Linked DNA regions of Homo sapiens: region 2 is linked to region 1. The links are contacts of gene promoters, found by promoter capture Hi-C in human tissues and cell types (Jung and others, 2019). All regions are on one chromosome and are shown on one strand. Each heading gives the region's core, a stretch centred on a gene start or on the middle of the fragment in contact. The rest is flanking DNA. Distances are from core to core; before and after follow the strand shown. Region 1 holds the start of FLRT2 (fibronectin leucine rich transmembrane protein 2). Region 2 has its middle 290 kb from the start of SNORD3P3.

What was found. The method cuts DNA at HindIII sites, captures the fragments that hold promoters and counts their contacts. A contact is called where the count stands out against the background at its distance.
Region 2: a contact is called between a fragment that was not itself captured here and the fragment with the promoter of FLRT2 in region 1, in 4 of the 25 tissues and cell types used here (H1 embryonic stem cells, heart left ventricle, hippocampus and 1 more).

Annotation. Positions count from the first base shown.
Region 1 is chr14:85,526,246-85,531,412 of GRCh38, reverse strand. It overlaps FLRT2 (fibronectin leucine rich transmembrane protein 2), which reads right to left and starts at 1,269. Exons shown (of 2, transcript NM_013231.6): 1 at 879-1,269. It overlaps FLRT2-AS1 (FLRT2 antisense RNA 1), which reads left to right. Exons shown (of 2, transcript NR_184170.1): 1 at 1-2,796. The HindIII fragment of the contact is 3,489 bases long and covers 1-2,823 here.
Region 2 is chr14:84,983,576-84,988,482 of GRCh38, reverse strand. No RefSeq gene overlaps it. Among named protein-coding and RNA genes, the nearest start is that of SNORD3P3, 290 kb to the left of the region's middle. The HindIII fragment of the contact is 3,980 bases long and covers 996-4,907 here.

The DNA of each region.
Region 1 (5,167 bases), core at 20-2,519:
CCCGTACTGGTCAGCGCGGCGGAGGGATCTTTCCAGGAGGCCCCAAGCCCCCAAGCCTGTGGAGAGACTTGGTAACAGCTGGCAAGGCCTGCTCCAGCCACCCTCGCTGGCTCCTTGCCCCTGCATTCAGCGCCTGAGGGCGTTATTCGCCCTCTCCCTGCGTCCCACGCAAGCGGCTCAAGGAACTCACTCGATCCGGATTCCGCCTCGTATGCTCTCCAAGCCTTCGCCACCTCCGCAGGCGCTCTAGAAAGGCGTGATGGCCCCAGCTCAGTGCCCGCCAGCCCGAAGAGGACAAGCAGGGCTGGAAGGGACTTGGTTTTGGAAAAAGCCCCACCCGCCCCCACCAACTGGAAGGAAAAGGAATTAGTATCCACCGCATCTGTTTAACTGCTAATAGATCCCAGATTACGGGCAGGTAGTAGGTTGGTGTCTTTAGATACAACAGCCTGATAATAACGCTGGTGACATTAACAACAGCTTGTGGAGGGGAGAGGGTTGTTACTGGTGAAAGTTAAGAGATTCAATCTAGGGAAGTAGGAGACTGAACTCTGACAAGGTTAGGGGCACTGAGAACCCCAATTTAGCATCGATGCATCTACCAGGCAAGAAAATTTGCGTTTTGACCCAGAACTCAGTCATGATGCTCCGTAGAGGAGGTGGATTCGACCAGCAGACAGATGTCCCCAAAGTCGAGAGAGAGCTAAGCTGCCTATTTTCTCTCCAGGTGAAAGACAAAGCCTAGAGCACCCCACTTAAGATGACCACCCCCAGCTCTTTCAAAAAAAAAAAATCCCCCGAAGAGACAGCGTGGTGCCAGCGTAGCAGCAGCTCGGCCGGTTACTGGAAACTTCACCTGGCAACGCAGCCCCTTTTACCTGACGGCTGCGTCTTCTCCTTGCAATGGGCTCATCCGAATCCGACAGGGTCAGGGAGGTGGAAAGGGAAGACGCTGGCGCGGCAGCAGCGGGGATCCCGGGGCATGGTATTGTTTTAGGGGTCGCCGCCGAGGTCCCTCCTGCCCATCGTTGAGAACTGCCACCCTGATCCCAGGGCTCGGTGGACACGGCGGCGGGAGCGGAGATGCCGCCTCGCCGCTGCTGGGCACCAGGGACGGAGGACCAGAGGCGCACCTCGGAAAGGAGTAGCTCAGCGCCTTGGCGCGGAGATTTGCGGGCACTGATGATATCTCGAGCGCTCGTTCCTCCGCGGTGACAATGGATAATGCCAAACGCGCAAGTGACGGCGACAGGTTTCGAACGTACAACTAACTACAAGGTACCCAGCCTGAGACAGTATGCTGCTTTTCCCCTCCTCCTCCTCTCCCTCCTACCAGGGAGGGAACTAACTTAACCCTGTGTGCGCCTGACACTCCCTAGAGAAGCTGGGATCGACTAGGAAACCGCAGGCAGCGGCTCCCGGGGGCGAGAGCTTTGTTCACGTGCGTTTCCAGTGGGTGTGTTGCTGTCTAGGGGCACTCGCGTGGCAAGACGCCCGTGGCTGGCTTCCAGCGCCCAAGATTCAAGGAAGGGAAGGAGCCCTAGCGTTTCATCCGGACCAGACCCAGCCCTCGGAGTCTATTTTTTGCCTCCAGTTACCGGATTTATTGAAGTTGCCAGCGAAGTTGGTTTTATTCCTTTACTTCTCTGCTCTCCGCCCCCGTCCACATCCCCCAACCCTGTATTATTTCCTGTCCTAGCTGCGCTTTAAAGATTCGGAACTTTTCACTCGTTCTAGCTACAGATTTTAACTGTGTTCCGTGTGCGAGACGAATTGTGGAGGGCACCCACCCACCCATGCCAAGTGTAAATGAAACCGCAAGAAAAGCTGCCTCCCACTCACCCATCCAGTGTCCGAGTAAGCCTAATGACACACATTCACATAACTAAGAAGACACGGGAAGATAGGGGTGCGGAGGACGGAGTTTGATGTGTGAATGGGAAATGGAGAGAGGGGACAGCGCGCGCGAGAGAAACAGCGCGAGCCTGAGCCTTAGAATGGAATAAACGGGAAACACACACAAGAATGACGATGCAAAAAATGTATCTAAGTCCCAACATTGACAGCAGAGGGTCAGCTTTAAGCGCCTACATTTTGATCCGCGAAATTTCCCAGCTTTTTTGGAGGCGGTTACATAGAGAACACAGGAGCCTCTGCCTTGGCCGCCCAGATGCTTTGCATTTTGTAAACAGCTTTGACTAAGTGCTCTGGACTTCCAAGAAGTTAACTGGAGTGGAAGGCGAGTCATATTGTGGATGCGGAATGGAAGCTTAGACAAGAAAAAACTGTCAGCAGAGCGCCTCTGCTCTCACCGTCACACCCAAATGAGCCAGGACGTCGCTCAGAGCGCAAACTGAGATCCACACAGGGACATCTTCAACCGAATCTTTCTTCTGTCTCCATTCCGGACTAAGGAAAGAAAGAAAGAAATACGGAGCCTTTATAGAGTATTCAGAGGCTACACACATGGATCTTGCTGAAACGGAGTTATTTAAAAACAGAGAAAGTGTGTTTTCCCATGAGATAGATGTTATAGTTTCTCTCTGAAACATACCCAAGTCTATGGGTGTCAATAATAGCCATTTCAAATGCCTCTCTGAGCCTTGCCAGCCCCAGAAGAGGCTGTGGGAATGCTGCTTCCAGCTTCCCCTGTGCAGAACTCCGTTGTAAATCCTTCTGAGTTTCCAAGGTGGCAGCAGAGCATAGGGATAGCTCCTCAAGCTCCAGCATCAACAAGGAAGATCACATTTTAGGACAAATACTCATCTACCTGCATTTAAACATCCATTTTCGTATGTAAGTGTACATAAGTATCCGCAGGAGGTTCTTCCTTTGAAATCTTGATCCAGGAAAGCAGCATAATTATTTCATCTTTAAGAACACATTTTAAAAAGGCAAAGCAGGATCTTTAAAGCAACAAAGGTTTTGCTTTCTGATTTATGCTGCTAGAAAATGAATGAGATTGAAAATGGGGGAGGGGGTGGTTGCAGATTTACAGAATTCATACTTTAAATTATTGGTGTTTCTAAACCATGAGCAAACCATGTTATGAGTATGTGCCACCTATTAAAAGCTATTGGTTGCATCTATTGTAATCACGACAAGGAAAATTAAGTAAGAAAAAATATCACGCCAAAGTACAAGCAGAATCGTTGTAACAAATTTCTTATGCACATGACCTATGAGTCAGCTTTAGAAATGTGTGATGATGGGGCCAGAGGAAGCAAACGAATAGGAAATGTGGCTCAGGGACTCCAAAGAGCAATAATTTTGCAGACTTAGAAAACTATAACAATTAGGTTACTTTATTTTTATTAGGAAACTCACTGATCCATAAGAGAAGTGGGTGAAAGAAAAACAAAAAGCAAATCTGCAAGCTTCAAAAAACAGAGGGTCAGCCCACTATTCTTAAGACTTCAGTCCTCAATAGTTTTCCTTTCAATTGAAATTGATTGTCATCTCAAACACTTTAATCCCCCACCCGCGTGTTTCTTACATCATTCCCCATCTATACACACATAGGTACCTTGGCCTTTCTTTTCTAATACTTTGTGAAAGTAAAAATAACACAGTATAATAAGATCATGATTTGAGCTCAGTTTTGATCTTGGGTAAATTCAACTCTGAGGTGCCTCTTCATTTTTAAAATGGACATTAAAAAAATCCCTGTTCTGCCAGCCTTATAACATTGTCCCACCATGAGTCAGCATATGTGAAAGTGCTTTAGAAATTTGACTTGTTGTTACTACTACTGATATTATCATTACATCACACCGTATCAGCCTTCAAAATATTGACAAATTATATTAGTGTAAACATTGTCAGTCTCCCCTGATGTTATCATCTTATATTACCTTAGAACATTTATCAAAACTAAGAAACCAGCTACATTGCTATTAACTAAACCTTAAACTTTACTCATATTTCATCAGTTTTTCCACTAAGTCTTTTTCCTGTTTCAGGATCTCATCTAGGATACCACAATGACTTTAAATATCCTGTCTCCTGTATTCTGTATAGTTCTTCAGTCTTTTCTTGTTTCGTATGATCCTGTAAGTTTTGAGAAGTGATAGTCAGGTATTTTGTAGACTATCTACCACTTTTGGTTCATCTGAAGTTTTCTCATGATTAGATTCTAGCTATAGTTCTTGGTAAAAAGCATCAGAGGTGGAATGCCTTACTGATCACATCATGTCAGCTGGCACATGATATCAGCATGATGCCACTGATGACATTAACATTCTCCAAGATATTTCATACCAGGGTTCTCTACTGTAAAGTTATTTGCCCTTTCAATACTCTGTTCTTTGAAAGTGAGTCACTAAATCTGGCCTACCCTTAGGAATTTAGAAATTTTAAATGAGCAAAATAAGCATTTATGACTTGTAAACATCTCAAATATCAAATTTACTCAGGAATAATCTCTCACGAAATTTTTCCTGTATGCAGTTTAGAGAAGTCCTCCTGTATTTCCTTAGAAAGTGCTGAACAGGCCGGGCGCAGTGGCTCATGCCTGTAATCCCAGCACTTTGGGAGGCCGGGGCAGGTGGATAACGAAGTCAGGAGTTCAAGACCAGCCTGGCCAAGATGGTGAAACCCTGTCTCTACTAAAGATACAAAAAATTAGCCAGGCATGATTATGCGCACCTGTAGTCCCAGCTACTCTGGAGGCTGAAGCAGGAGAATTGCTTGAACCCGGGAGGCGGAGGTTGCAGTGAGCTGAGATCGTGCCATTGCACTCCCTCCTGGGCAACAGGGTGAGACTCTGTCTCAAAAAAAAAAAAGAAAGAAAAAGAAAAGAAAGAAAAAGAAAAAGGAAAAAGGAAAGTGCTCAAAAATCTCCTCTGGCTATGTATTTTGAAGCAATTTTCAGTTAGTCTGTGTTTTACAATTCCCAAACCCTGTCATTCTCCAAATCTTGGTAAAGTTTTTTTTTTTTTTTTTTTTTTTTTTTTTTTTTTTTAATTCTCCCTTTCTTCCAGTCCCATTGCCACATTTCCGGATGGTTCAAAATTCCAACTTCTCTATGAAAAGATAATATCCATTATGTCCTACACTTCTCTCTTACATTTTTCCACCATTATGGTACTCATTTCATTCTCCCTTAAAGTAATATTAGCAATCTACATGTTTAATCTCATGTCTAGATCTTATTGACTCCAAGAGT
Region 2 (4,907 bases), core at 1,736-4,235, 540 kb after region 1:
GACGACTCAGGTTGCCTGTGGAGTAACGTGGCTCTTGGGAGTGATAAAAGTTGTTTCTTTGAACCAAAGCTAGACATTCTTAGGGAATGTACAATGTTTTATAGCAATGTCTCCCAAATTTATAAAGACAATGATGTCTTTATGTGTCATACCTTCTAGGATATTTTTACCTGCTGTTCTGAAATGATTCAGGCAACCAAGATGATATCCTGGCCCTATTATGTACTAGTTGTGTGGTCTTGGACGTGTTTCTAGAAATACACAAGTCTTATTTTCTTCCAGTAAAAGAAAGAAAAACACTGGTATAGAGAGGGATACTAAGATCCAGGAGGTCACTTTTAGTGGCTAATAGCTCTGTGTTTAGATTTAGACAAGCATAGGTTTGAATCCTGACTCAATAGGATGATCTTAGACAATGAACTAGATTTTTTTTTCAGCTTGTTTCCACATTTTTGGAACAGTGGTTGTATCTATCTGAAAGTTATACAAATTAAAAAAACAAGAATGCATATAAAATACTTAGCAATGTGCCAGGCACTTATTAAGTCACTGAATAAATGTTTGTTGTTTATTAGATTACTATCACCACCATTCTCCTATTCTTACTTAGTATTAAGACTCACTGTAAATACTTTAGAGTTTAGCTCAGGAAAATTCTTTCTAGGGACAAAATTATTTTATTAAGTAGTCTCCTGGTATTTTGGGCTTTATTGCTAAAATTGAATAATTTAAACTGTTGCGAATAGCACAAAAAAGGGAGAAGTCATATGGAAAGAAGAGAACTAAGGATGGAAGTAAAACACAATAGTTGCATATGAAATGTTAGGGAGAGAAGAAGAGCAGAGAGGAAGCAAGCACTTCTCAAAGTGAACATACAACTAAGAACAAGAATCAGAATCCCCCAGATACAGAAATAAAGTCAACGTTCAATTTCAGTGTTAGCCAGGGGCTCTTGTTGTTGTTTACTTGTTTTAGGGAAAAATACTTCGAGTCTTTCTCTTGAGTCGTAAAGATTGGTGAAAAAATAATTGCAGGTTTGCTATTACTTTTCATTGCAAAAACCACAATACTTTGCATTAAATTAATAAATTCCTTGTAGTTGGTGCATTGCTCAATGTTAAGAACAAAAGCAGAACATTACACAAAGCAGTAAAAATGAATCCATGTCAGAGCAATTGGTGAAGGTCATGGGATTGAAGTTCTAATCTGAAGGGCCTCAGGTGACATAACAGGAAAATGATCTCAGAAATCTAGGAGGAAGGTGTACCAGGGAACCCAGGAAGTTAAGCTCACAAGTAGAATAAGATATGGTCAGAGTCAGCAAACACTAGAAGTCAGAGTGAATTTAAAAATCTCAGGTTGCTTTATTATCAACTCTTCTTTTGACCTCTCATTTCAGAATCGTAGCCTGAAAATGTTATGCTAACATAAAGAGGTGAAATTGATGGACTGTAAAGAGAACTGTGGGCTGGCCATGCCACCATAATTTTCTCTTGCTGTCATTTTTTCCCCTGAATTAAGTGATTCTGACCTTGAACAAATTGCTTAGCCCCTTTGAATATAAGTATCTTTACCTATAAAACTGAGGATATTATACTTCCCATAGAGGTTTCTGTGAGATTTAAGTGAAAGGATATATTTTACACACTTCACTCAGGATCTGTGTACAGGTTATAAACTCAATAAATCAATATTTACCCTTAAGTAAAACAAGCAAACAAAAAGTTTGATACAGCCAAATTGGGGCACAGACTTAGAGGTCTATTTCTTTAGGTATGTAATGTCTGTGCATTGCCACTACTACGCCAACTCTTCCTCCATTCATGTGAGTTTTTGAGTGGTGCTGAATGGTACCATACACTGTAATAACAGCCAAGTTAATAACCAGTTAATCAAATGGCACATGTTTATTGAACATAAACTATGAGCTGGCACAAGTAAGGAGCTGTGCCCACAAAGAATAACCAGGCTAAATCCTTGTTCTCAAGTGCTGAAAATACAATGACAATAAGCAACTAAAATCACACACAGAAACACACACAATGTGAGAATTTTTTCATTATAGTGGCTTTTGGCATGCAAAAGGCAGAGTCATTATTTAAGCTTTTTCTTCACAGATAATTGTGTTCTGTCTGTTGATATCATTAAAACTTAGGGCCTTTCTGCACTGGGAAAGAGTGCCAGTTACTGGAAGAAACTTTTTGTTTGAATTTTATAAGCATTTTATATCCCCAGTCAGTTTTAGTTTCCAAGTGTCATAAAGTAACATTTATCAAAAGCTTAAATGTCATTTCCTGTCATTTTAAAGGAAGAAAAATTTTGTCTTAAGCACATTATCTAACTATAATGAAAGTCTTAAAATATCAGCAAACGACTGAAAATAATTTTATGATGTAATAGCTACTGCACGAAAAAGATGGATATATCTACTCATAGTTTCAAGTCTTCAATAGATGTGTTTGTAAATTGTATAGTTATAGTTAATTAGCTACCATATATTTAAAAGGCTACCCCAAAGCTCTTGTTAAATCGTGCTTTTGTAGCATTAATTATGATTCAATGGGACTTTCAACAAAATTAAATTCTGAATGAATCAAGAGAGAATTGTTCCTTAGAACATTAGAGTTAGTCCCACCAATGATCAAAAGATGTGATATTATTGTTATTATTTCCTGTAGATTAATTTCCTTTTTTCCCCAAATATAATTAGCAAGTAACTGATATTCTTGGTAAACAACTCAAGAACCAGAGTCCTAGGGAACTCCAGTTTCTTAGAGACATCTGTCTCTATTAATATTTTCCAAAAGTCCAACAATATCAGGCATCATCAGGAGGGAAGAGGCACATCAAACAGAAATACAATTTTTCAGTTGTATGAAATAACAGTATTCAAATGGAAAAGGGCCTTGGCTTTTCTCCTTGATAGTTATATAATTCTGTGAAGGTCAATTTGTTTCTGAGATGATTTCTGCAGCTTTCCATTTCTGCTTTTATAAAAAGGAGATAATTATATGCACAGGCATTTTTGTGTGAATCCATATACATATCTCGAAATGGTAGTGGTGATCTCATGAGTTGATCTTGCATCCATCTCCATGGCTATGTCCATATGTCATCTCCACTGTTGTTGCTGTAATTCCACCACCAAACTTAGAGTTTGATATGGTTTGGCTCTGTGTCCTCACCCAAATCTCATGTTGAATTGCAATCCCCACATGTTGGGAGAGGAGCCTGGTGGGAAGTGATTGAATCATGGGGAGGACCTCCCCTTTGCTGTTCTGGTAATAGTGAGTTCTCATGAGGTTTGGTTGTTTGAAAGTGTGTGGCACATATCCTATGTCCTCCTTCTGTCACCATGAGAAAATATGCTTTTCTTCCCCTTTGCCTTCCACCATAATTGTAAGTTTCCTGAGACCTCCCCAGCCATGTGGAAGTGTGAATTGATTTTTTCTTCATAAAGTACTCAGTCTCAGGTCGTTCTTTATAGCAGTGTAAAAACAAACTAATACAGAGTTGACCTGGTTCTCCTTAGGCTTGATTTATTCTGTTTGCTGGATATGCTAGTCTTAATGAGAATGCCTAGATTCTAATATGGCCAATTATTCATAAGTCCACTAAATACCTCCAGAAGTGTGAGATAATCTACCACGTAAATATGTCCAGTGAAGTTTTCCAAACCTCTCTAATTTCCTACTGGGGGTGTGCTGATGAGGCTAACCCTGGGCCATATGTAGATGTCTTATAACTGCACTTCTAAAAGGAAATAACAGAGCTAGAAAAGCCCAGCGAAGAGATCAACTGAACTAGTGGCTCTAAAATATTTGTGTGTTCTAGAATCAGCAGGGAAGCTTACTATCACGTAGATTCCTGGAGTGCTATCAGATAGTCTGATTCAGTAGGGAGTAGCAAAGGAATCTGAAATTTTCACAAATATCTGAGACACTCTGAGATGTGGGAAGGATTAACCAATGATGGTAAAATAATTTGAGACAGGCAACTACATGAAGCAATAACTTTTTAAAGGCGGAAATATTCCTTTGCATTCTACCAATGTACATTGACTAATGGCAGAGCAGTGGAGATGGGGAGGCAGCCATATTTAAAAACTTCACATCACACTAGATAGCTCTTAGTGATACTAAGGTGATAAGGTTTGGCACTGTGTCCCCACCCAAGTCTCACCTTGAGTTGTAATAATTCCCAAATGTTGTAGAAGGGGCCCGGCGGGAGGTAACTGAATCACGGGGGTGGGCTTTTTCCCATGCTGTCCTCATGGGAGTGAATAAGTCTCACGAGATCTGATGGTTTTATAAAAGGGAGTTGCCCTGCATACGCTGTCTTGCCTGCCACCATGTAAGACATGCCTTTACTCTTCTTTCACCTTCCACCATGTTTGTGAGGCCTCTCTAGTCATGTGGAACTGTGAGTCCATTAAACCTCTTTCCTTTATAAATTACTCATTCTTGAGTATGTCTTTATTAGGCAGCATGACAATGGACTAATACATATGGTTTTCATCAAGCTTTAGAAAAAATTAAAAATTAATAAAAATATTGGTCTTAAGCCTCCTCCATTATACATTTTCTTCCCTGGTCCTATTTTATCTCATCTACCTTTCTCTTTATGTATACAAGATAAAAATTTTCCCTATAGGCTGATAAAATTCACCTTCTCAAACCCCAATGCCAGAATTTTGTCTCCAAGATTGATTTTAGCTCCCCAGATCTTGTACTATATCACCTGTGCATTGCCTAGTCTTACTTAGAACAAAGAAAGAATTTGTAGGGATTGGATCCTGCCCTTCATGTAAATGTCCCTCTGCTTCTTTCAGTGAGCAAAAAATTCAAATACATCATAATACAAAAACCACTCCATTTCCAATTAACATATTCTACTCTAGATTTAAC